Regions from separate parts of the Homo sapiens genome. Here all the other regions are linked to region 1. Evidence: promoter capture Hi-C in 16 types of primary human blood cells and fetal thymus (Javierre and others, 2016). All regions are on one chromosome and are shown on one strand. Each heading gives the region's core, a stretch centred on a gene start or on the middle of the fragment in contact. The rest is flanking DNA. Distances are from core to core; before and after follow the strand shown.

Region 1 (2,522 bases), core at 17-2,516:
ACACAAAAATACTAAAAGCACCAGACTGCCACAGCATTGTCTTAGATTTAGGAATCCAAATAACTACTAAAGTTCTAGAGAAGCAATCATGATAACTTCATAATCTTCTAAAGGAAAAACTAAAGGCTGGCTTCTTAAAAGTTCCTAACTGAATCGTTCCAGGTTTCTTTATCTCTAGTTTTGCTACACTGGACAGCTTCTGAGAGTACAGGCAATGTAGGGATTTTCCATTACAATGGTGCCAGAGACCGAAGGACAAACACATTTTTAAAGAAGCAATCAAATTCTGCCCATTGATTTTTATCAGGACGCTAAAATCCTATGAAAAGATTGTGGTCACGTGCCGATTTGGAAACTAGCAGAAAAGTTATTCCTCAAAAGAACTGTAGTCACGAGATGTGTCATCCCTTACCAAAAAAAAAAAAAAGCAATACGTCCACCAACTATTTATTAAGTTCAGCACTTAAATTTCTCATTTTGCCTTTTTACTTACCAAGTTGGAAGAAAAAAGGGAACGCGATTGTGAAACGTTAGCCAGCGTCTGAATCAGATAATGCCCCCAAAACGCCTGCAGCCTCTAAGATTGGCTTTACTTTCCGAATTCCTCACCCGAGTGGTCGTAAGACATCGAGCAAACACGTTCTGCTAGGTGGAACTTCAGAGGTCGCCAAAATCAAGTCATGGGAGCGCCTTTGTTTTCCCTACATTAATCATTCGGGTGTAGGATTTGGTTTGGGGTCTGTGGATGTGTGTCCCGGAGTGGTTGGGGGAAAGGCTGGCGTGTACGTGTGTTCCCAGGTGACCGGGTGTATTTCTCCGTGTGTATGTGCACGGGTGTCCGGGCTTTTGTATCTCCCTTTCTCCAGTGTTTGTGTGTGTTTCTGTGAGTCCCTCTCCCCAAGGGTGTGGGGACCGTCTTTCCTCCTGCGTCAGAGAGGAGGCAGGGAGACAACCAGCCGTCCTCTCTCCCGGGGCGGCCTTGTGACCCGCGCTAGCCCCGCGCGCACCGCACCCCGCCCCAGCTGCCCGAGGCCCGAGCCGCCCCCTCAGACCCCGACACCCGCGCACTCCGCCCGGTCCCGAAGGAGTCCCGAGTCCCGCTCACCTCGCGGCCACACGAAAGACGACCCGGGAGCTCTGGGCCGGCCCGTCTGGGCGCAATGAGGACAGAGAGAGGGTCGGGGACCTGCACAGCAGGAGGCAGCCGCGGTAGCGCAGCCAGGCTCCCGCTCCAGCTGCTCCCGTCCAGCGCGGAGGGAACAACATGGCGACGGGCCGGGGCGGGGCCAGGGAAAAAGCGGGGCGGGGCCTGGAAGGCGGGGTCCCGCGGCCGAGACCCTGGGGGACGGGCGCGGGGAAGGTGGAGCCGAGGCAGGCGGGGCCTGGATCGTGCTTTTCCTTCGGGTCGATTGCTCCTGAAGTGTCCTCCCGTCTGCGTTCGGGCGACAGCGAGTACGAAATAACTGTCATTTTGAAAAGTTTACGTAAAGTGGAAATAAACAGACCTCATGAGCACAGTCACAGGATGTCGTGATTACAATGATAAAAACGACTAGTCAAACGGACAAAGAACAAACAGGTGGATGAAAAATGAAAACAGTTGTGATACTGTGGAAAAACAAGAACTTTTTAAATGAAGCTATTAAAACTTTCCTTTAATCTTGTTAAAATACTGCCTCTGTCATCTCTGAATAGAAAGCGATGGTGCAAAAGGTGGTATTGGAGAAGCTCTCCTTAAGTCCTTGCTTTATGTATGAAGTTGAGTGCATGGATCCTATGATACAGAACCCTACAGGCGGGAGGGACTCATAGGGACATCTCAATACGTTTTGTACGGTGATTTAGTTTGTTTATCAGAAAACCAAATACTGCGTGTTCTCACTCATAAGTAGAAGCTAAATGATGAGAACTCATGGTCACATAGAGAGGAACAAGAGACACCAGGGCCCACTTGAGGGTTGAGGGTGTGAGGAGGAAAAGGAGCAGAAAAAAACTAGGTATCAAGTACTATGCTTATTACCTGGGTAACTAAATAATCCGTACACCAAGCCCTTGCAACAGGCAGTTTACCTACATGACAAACCTACACATGTACCCCTAAACCTAAAATAAAAGCTTTTTAAAAAAGATTTAGTCTGTTTATTTTCCAAGACAAAGATCTCACTTTTATGATGCTGGGGCTCACAACAAGTTAAATAATCTCCAGCTTTTTGGGGAGTCATTTTCAGGTAATGACTTTTCATTCAGCACTAGAAAGGTCATGTTTGAGAAAGTTCCTCACAAATTAAAAAGGCAATTTTAGAATGCTTCTGAAAACGACACATAAGCTTAAATAATTGTTTTCTCATAAACAGAAATCTATTTCTTATCTGCAGGTCATTTCCCCAAGGAAATATGTATAAACGTTTATAAAATACAAATCTGTTAAATTGGGGGGAAGAAGAAATATACACTATCTTGTTTTAAAACACATATTAAAAGTACACAGTAAAACATTATATATGAACACTAGAGTTAATTTT
Region 2 (2,522 bases), core at 13-2,512, 890 kb after region 1:
AAAAAAAAAAAAAGAGCCAATTATACCTAATGAAAATTTAAAAACAGGCTGGGCATGGTGGCTCATGCCCACAGTCCCAGCTACTTGGGAGACTGAGGCAAGGGGATTGTTTGAGCCCAGGAGTTCTAGTCCAGCCTGGGCAACATAGCAAGACCCCGTCTCTAAAAAAAATTTTAAAGAAAAGGAAAATAAAAATAAAGTTTTTCAAGTTGACATGTTGTGAAAATTAGTTTTGATAACATTCACACATCTTCTTGCACGCCTTCTACTATGGATGAAAATATGCCAACCTCACAGGATGAGGGGGATAGAAAGAGTTCTATGTGCTCCCTCCTATTTGAAGATCTAAGGAGCTAAATCTAACTGCTTTGTGAACACTACATCAACTATGACATAAACTTAATTTGGAAATTGCTATGGTTTAAATGTGTTCCCTAAAGTTCATGTGTTGAAAGCTTAATCCCCAGTATAGGAGTATTGACAGGTGAGACCTTTAAGAGGTGATTAGGTCATAAGGGCTCTGTCCTCACAAACGGATTAACGTCATCATTGCTAGAGTGTGCTCATTATCTTGAGAATGGGTTTATTATATTAGCAAATTTGGCCCTCTATTGCTCTCTCTCAAATATGCTCTCTTGCCCTTCCACCCTTCTGCCATGGGATGATGCAGCAAGAAAGCCCTTGCCAGATGCCAGCCCCTCAGTATTGGACTTCCCAGCCTCCAGACCTGTGAGAAACAAATTTCTATTGTTTATAAATTAGCCAGTCTCTGGTATTCTGTTATAGCAGCACAAAATGAACTACAGCAGAAATCAAGTACAGTATTATATAGCTGAGAGGTTGACAAAACACAGCACATAGGCTGTTTTTCTATGGCCTGTGAGTTAAGAATGGCGTGGTAGGCAGAATAATGGCCCCCTAAAGATGTCTACATCCTAATCCTTTGAATATGTGAGTTTATATGGCAAAGGGGAAGTAAATTTGCAGATAGCATTCAGGTTGCTCATCAGCTGACCTTAACATGGGGAAATTATCCTGGATTATTTAAATTGGCCCATTGTAATCATGGGGCCCTTAAAAATGCAAGAGGGAGACAGCAGAAGCAGGGTCAGAGCAACATTTTGTTGCTGACATTGAAGGTGAAGAGGCCAATAGTGAAGGAATGTGGGCTGCCTCTGGAAACCGGAAAAGGCACGGGAACAGATTCTCCCCTAGAGCCTCAGAAGAGAATACAGCCCTGCTAACCTGTGACAGACATTACCGTAACTTACAGAACTGTAAGATACCGCAGCAACAGAGACTACATGTGCTAGCACTGCCTAAAATATTTACGATTTGGCCCTTTGCAGAAAAACTTTGCCAACTCCTGGTCTTATGACGTTTATCCCACAAGATTAGATTCTTTGGCCTGTTTTTACTCAGGAACCTCAGTTCTCATATGACTAGCAGTCCAGGGGAGGACAGAGAATATCATCACCATGGCAACTTTTCCCCTAAAGCTAGTCCTGCTTCTACTCAAAAAGATGATCATGACTACCTTTATTCTAGGTCTTTAAAAAATTGTGGCTAGAAGGCAGCATCCATTTGCCATTCTGCCAGAGGATCTTTATTGACCCCCAAATAAAAACGCTGAAGAGCGTCACTGACTCAACAATAAACGGGCATGGTAACTAAAAGATAGCCACAGACTCTTAACACATTTCCCATCAAGGAGCAGGGTCTAGTCTCCCGCCCTTGAATCTGAGAGGGCTCTGTACTTGCCCAACAGCATATGACAGAAATTATGATACACCAACTTGCAAGCCCAGTCCTTAATGGACTGGTGGCTTCAATGTCCTGTCTTTTGGAACATGTGCTCTTAGAACCCAGCTTCCATGCTGTAAGGAAGCTCAAGCAGCCCCATGGAGAGGCCTACAAGAAGAGGAGCTGAGGTTCCTAACCAAGCTCCCAGGCAAAAGCTAGTAACAACTTCAGTCATGTGAGCCATCTTCAAGAACCCTCCAGCCCCAGTTAGCCGCCTCAGCTGTGACCAGCCTCAGCTGTGACCATACGCGGCAAAAACAAGCTTTCTTCACTGAGCCCTTCCCAAATTGCAGATTTGTAAGCCAAATCAACAATTACTGTTTTAAGCCATTAAGCTCTTTATTTATTACATGGTAACCGATAACCTTGTATAACTTTGCATAACCTTGTCTCACAGTATAGCTAAAGATTCTGCCAGCAGGTTAACTGACCATAGTAAAATGTTACAACAGAGACATCTAGACACCTGCTGTCCTAAGATGTCATCATGGAATTTCCATGGTCTATAGTGAAGCTGGAGCGGACCTCTCCCTGCATATCTGAAATGATTTAGGGATAAGAAGGTAAAATTGGAAGGCTCTATGTTCAGTAAAGTAGCATATAAAAAACGCAAAATGGGAGGATTGATGGCCAGGAGACAGCAAACCAGATTTCTGATCCTAGTTCAGTGACAGATTCAAGAAGGGGCCCTTACATGAACTGAATCAATTTTGTCTTCA
Region 3 (2,522 bases), core at 13-2,512, 660 kb after region 1:
ATGAAATGTTAATCTTCGCTTGACATAAACCCATCTCATTTTTCTACTTGGCATTCTGTGTAGGCTTCACCTTTTCTCCAGATGGTGCAGTCAATTGTGTTTGGGCCATTCTCACATGCATTGTGGTTTCCTAGTTCACACTCGTGGTTGTTTCATGACCTGATATGCCAGTGAACTATCTTCCTTTTAAGATATAGTTGGGCCACATTTTCATTGCCCCTACATCCTTACTTTTTAAATATTGTATGTGAAATCATCTCCCTCTAGTGAGCCTAGCGAAGCCATGACTATTTAAGGAGACAGCATAAGCTCTACACTATAGAGTCGTAGGTTTGAGTCCCGGCCTTGAAATCTTCTAGACGTCAGGATTGCTGATGATCTCACAGCCAGTTTTTCTATCTGCAAATCAGGGCTGATAATACCAACCTGCATTTCTTAAAACGTAGAATTTTATTGATGCTAACTCATATTTTTTATCTTATTTTTAAAATGAATGTCTTTCCTGTGGACCAACCCATATTTTATACAAACATCAAGAATAAGCCATGTCCAATGCTGAGGAATGGCTGAGCAGAGGGTTCCACTCAGTCTCACTGGTAGAATGAGTTTAGTTGCTTGCCTTTGGGAAGATCCTAACTTCTTAATTTCAGCGGTAGTTTTATTTGTGCTTTTGGTTTTGGGTTTTTCTTTCTTTCTTTCCTCTTCCACTTGGATGTGTTACCAAGCCTAAAGGGTCTTGTTGGAGAGAGAAGTAAATCTCAGATGTTGTACTGCTATTGATCTAATTACACAGAAGAACTCTGGGGTCTGTTAGGCATTTTATTAATTGTATTTAATCTAAGACAATGGGGAAGTCTGGTGGTTTCCTTGGAAATACCCAAGTTCAGATATTTAGGTCATTGATTTTCTGCAGCTTTCTTACAGGAAATTAAACATGTGTCCAAGTGATTGAAGTCATGTATTCAAGTCAGCTTTTGCATCCCTCCAATCACTAACTAATAACCTAACTGGTACTTTATGGTTGTCAACCACTAACTAATAACCTAACTAGAACTTTATGATTGTAAGTACTGCAGTCCAGGTTGAATTGGCTTTGTAGATAAAATGGCTTTCTATGTTTATTCCTACAAAGATCTTTCTCTCTCTCTCTCTCTCTCTCTCTCTCTCTCTCTCTCTCATATTTTTATAGAATGGTGTACAACTATGATCTGCTGAAGATAGCAAGAGTGACTCTTATTATCTCCTGTACTATGATCTGTGCATCTTTTCATTGTTGAGAAGAAAATTCTTAAGCCACAGTGAGAGGGTGGAACAAGCTCCATTTCCTGACAATCCATACTCTCTCCTAATTGTGGCTAGACAAGGGACAGAGAAGACCACTTTTTATTCTGGTTACCAGACCCACTCCCAGCACCCATGATGTCATGCCAATCAAGTTTTATTTTTACACATACACACATACACATATGAACATACAGAGTTCTAAATTATTTTCAAACACCAATCAACCTTCATAAATGACCACCCACATAGGAGTTCAGAAAGTCTTCTTTTGCAACAGAAAGAAGATCACCCACTAGTGGACGTGACAGCAGGTTGAGATCAGAAGGAATGGAAAACTCATTAGCTGCCTATTGAATTCAAAGGAAAACAGGTACTTCCCTCTGATGTACATGCATAGGAGATCAGTTAGTTCCGTTTCATGTGTAAACACCAACTGGCTGTGCTCATGGTAAGACTGGAAACAGGCACAGGCCATCCTCCTGTTCTCCCCTGGAGGGGGAGGAAAAGAGAACAATTTGGATGAAATGTGGAAAGAGTGAAGGGAGGAGAAAAAAGGAAAGACTGACAATGAGTGTACTGGAAGGGACATGATAGGTCCCTTAAGAGAATGCCCTATATTAAGGATATGGGGTGTGAAACAGGAAAACTGCTGGCGTGGTAAACAGCTGGCTAAGCCCCCTGAACCGGGTGGATATATTTGCTTTTGTCTAGTTGTCCAGCACTGCTCAGTGAATCATAGGGACCTCCAGGGCATTGTAAACTGTTTCCTATCATGCAGGGTGTTCACACCTTCCCTTCATATGGGACCTGCAGGCCCATTCTTTATCAGCTATGGGGAAAGGAAGTTGTTTGTCATGACTTCAGATATACTCCAGACTTCTCTTTCCTCTGAAGTTCTGCAATTCCAAGATTCCAGATAGGTTGTGGCATGGAAACCAGCATGAAGGAGCCCACAGAACTACCAGGAAGGAGAATAGGGAGGAGTCGTTGGGAAGAGACAAATGGTACCGGGGCTGGTTGAGGCTCTGTCTACACAACAAAATAATTGGCTAAAAAGGGAAAGACGCGCCAGGCGCGGTGGCTCATGCCTGTAATCCCAGCACTTTGGGAGGCGGGCGGATCACAAGGTCAGGAGATCGAGACCGTCCTGGCTAACACAGTGAAACCCCGTCTCTACTAAAAATACAAAAATTAGCCGGGCGTGGCGGCGTGTGCCTGTAGTCCCAGCTGCTGAGGAG
Region 4 (2,522 bases), core at 6-2,505, 640 kb after region 1:
TCCAACCCAGCTGTGGAAATAATCGGGCTGGGCACGATGGCTCAAGCCTGTAACCCCAGCACTTTAGGAGGCTGAGGCGGGCGGATCGCTTGAGCCCAGGAGTTGCAGACCAGCCTGGGCAACATAGTGAGACCTCATCTCTGCAAAAAATAAACAAAATTGGCCAGGAGCGGTGGTTCATGCCTGTAATCCTAGCACTTTGGGAGGCTGAGGCGGGCAGACTGACTGAGCTCAGGAGTTCGAGACCAGCCTGGGCAACACGGTGAAACCCTGTCTCTACTAAAATACAAAAAAAAAAAAAAAAAAATCAGCCAGGCGTGGCGGCGTGCGCCTATAGTCCCAGCTACTTGGGAGGCTGAGGCAGGAGAATTGCTTGAACCAGGGAGGCAGAGGTTGCAGGAAGCCGAGATCGTGCCACTGCACTCCAGCCTGGGGACAGAGTAAGACTCTGTCTCTAAAAATAAATAAATAAATAAAATAAAATTAGCTGGGCATGGTGGGACATGCCTGTAGTCCCAGCTACTTGGGAGGCTGTGGTGGGAGGATCCCTTGAGCGCGGGCAGTTGAGGCTACAGTGAGTAGTGATTACACCATTGCAGCCCAGCCTGGGTGACAGAGCAAGACCCTGTCAAAAAAAAAAAAAAAAAGAAAAAAGAAAAATGAAAGAAAAGAAATGACCACATCATGAGAAATCTAGACATAAAGTCTTTAACTTTGTATATCCACTGCAGAATCATGCAATGCCCAGTGTGAGGGAATGGAGTAGGATAGGAGAAAACTACCTGCCCCTGCTGGGAGTCAACAATTTTCTTAGATAAAACATAAAAGCACAATCCATTGATAAAAAGGATGCAGCTGGGCGTGTTGGAAGCACACAGGACATGGGAGGGAGCCTGGGCTCCACCCGCAGGGTGATGGCCATTCCACCCAAAGGGGCAGGAGTGGCTGGAACGAGCCTGGGGGCAAGGTCCTAGGCCCCGTTCACTTGGCCTCCATTCCTTAGGGCAGGGTCCCCTGGCACTCACCACTCCCGAGTCCTTGCTTCCTTCACCAGGATGAGGAGCTGGAATATCGTGGGGACAGAGGCCTCAGAGAGCCACCCAATGAGTCCACAGCAGCCATGGACAGTCCGTGAGGGGGAGGGTGTGCCTGCAGGGGGCGTGGCCCCATGCCGCCCGCCACCTGCATGCGCACTGGGCCGACCAATCAGCGAGGAGCGCGGGCAGCCGGGGCGGCTGCTGCTCTCGTGAGAACAGAGGACCCAGGCCCTCGGAGGAGCTTCGCGGTGCCAGCCTCTGCAGGTCCTCTGAGGGAGCAACATCAGGGCTCCCTCAGGTGAGACGCCCTCGGTGGGGATGCGGGGAAGGCGGGCCAGAGGCCCTTTGGGGAAGAGGGTGTGAAGGGCGGGGCAGCCAGGCTGATCTGTGAGGAAATGGCCCAGGCATTGTCGCCTGGGGCCTGGGTCAGGGCAGGGAGTTGGAGCTGCCTGAGTGGTCCCCAGGACCCAGGAGGGTCCCGGAGGCCTGTGCATGTGTGCAGCGTTTGGGGGGGGGTCGGGGGGTCAACGTGGGTCCGTCTTGTCTGGCTGCCCATCAGGACGGGATACTTGGGGTCACCAGGGGTCCCCTGGGCGTCCAGGCTGGCGAATGGGCAGTCCCTGCCCCTGTCAGAAACAGGTGCGTACCGGCTCATTCCCATGGAGATGGCTGGGGAGATCCTGTGTCACCCCGCGGCCCTCCCGACTCCACTGGGTCGCTGGGGAACCCAGGGGCAGGGCCAGGCTCTGTCCCAAGGGCACTGCAAGAATCCCGCAGAGGCCGCGGAATTCTGCGAGCTCTGCAGCCAGCCCCGGGGAAGCGCTGGACGGGCCAGGACAGGAGGGGATGATGGCATCTTCTCCGCGTCCCCTCCTGCTCCCACGGGAGACCCGGGGCGCCCTTGAACCTGCGATCCTGATGATTTTCATTTAACACGCCTCGTTTCCTTAGTGTCCTTAGTGTGTCTTTGCACTCACCAGGTTCAGAGGTCGCCTCTAGCTTCCCAGGCCAGTCAGCCACGGAGCCCGTGGGCAGGAAGGGCAGCAGGATGGCTGCCAAGGACCAGTTGGAGGTTCAAGTTATGGCCGCCCAGGAAATGGAGCTTGCAGGTAAACACAGCCCAAGGGGACCTAGAAGAAGGTGCACGCCCAACAGTCTGTCTGCTTTCTGGGCGGGGCGCACATGGGCAGCCCGAGGCCCCCGGCCCCTTCGTGGCTTTGGAGCTCACCGTGCATGTGCTGAGATGCCCCAGGTTTTCAAAGCAGGCTCAAGGGCCTTAGGCTTCCCGTGGGAGGCTCCCCCTCATAGCAGGGTTACAGATGCTCTCAGAGCAGCTCTTCTCCATGGATGCGGTCCTGACATCCAAGGGATCTGACCTGTGAACGTTGTTTACTGGGACTTGAACCCGAAGGGCTTCCAAAAATGCCTCCGTAAAATGGTTAGGAGCCGGCGATTCCATGTATAGCTCTGCGGTAAAGCTTTAAT

Evidence for each region. The method cuts DNA at HindIII sites, captures the fragments that hold promoters and counts their contacts. A CHiCAGO score of 5 or more calls a contact.
Region 2: a contact is called between a fragment that was not itself captured here and the fragment with the promoter of RAB9A in region 1, in 2 of 17 cell types (non-activated CD4 T cells and fetal thymus). The highest score is 6.8, in non-activated CD4 T cells.
Region 3: a contact is called between a fragment that was not itself captured here and the fragment with the promoter of RAB9A in region 1, in 1 of 17 cell types (total CD8 T cells). The highest score is 5.1, in total CD8 T cells.
Region 4: the fragment with the promoter of FAM9C here is called in contact with the fragment with the promoter of RAB9A in region 1 in 2 of 17 cell types (naive CD4 T cells and M0 macrophages); the score reaches 6.7 in naive CD4 T cells.

Annotation. Positions count from the first base shown.
Region 1 is chrX:13,687,872-13,690,393 of GRCh38, reverse strand. It overlaps RAB9A (RAB9A, member RAS oncogene family), which reads right to left and starts at 1,266. Exons shown (of 3, transcript NM_004251.5): 1 at 1,106-1,266. RefSeq lists silencers at 957-1,116, 1,127-1,366 and an enhancer at 1,517-1,566. The HindIII fragment of the contact is 3,610 bases long and covers 1-2,117 here.
Region 2 is chrX:12,793,705-12,796,226 of GRCh38, reverse strand. All of the region lies in intron 1 of PRPS2 (phosphoribosyl pyrophosphate synthetase 2), which reads right to left. Among named protein-coding and RNA genes, the nearest start is that of PRPS2, 3.6 kb to the right of the region's middle. The HindIII fragment of the contact is 1,610 bases long and covers 458-2,067 here.
Region 3 is chrX:13,024,750-13,027,271 of GRCh38, reverse strand. No RefSeq gene overlaps it. Among named protein-coding and RNA genes, the nearest start is that of FAM9C, 19 kb to the left of the region's middle. The HindIII fragment of the contact is 3,108 bases long and covers 1-2,522 here.
Region 4 is chrX:13,043,353-13,045,874 of GRCh38, reverse strand. FAM9C (family with sequence similarity 9 member C) reads left to right here and starts at 1,255. Exons shown (of 8, transcript NM_174901.6): 1 at 1,255-1,335; 2 at 2,018-2,146. The coding sequence starts at 2,086. LOC105373133 (a long non-coding RNA gene) reads right to left here and starts at 1,142. Exons shown (of 4, transcript NR_171577.1): 1 at 1,026-1,142. The HindIII fragment of the contact is 8,868 bases long and covers 1-2,517 here.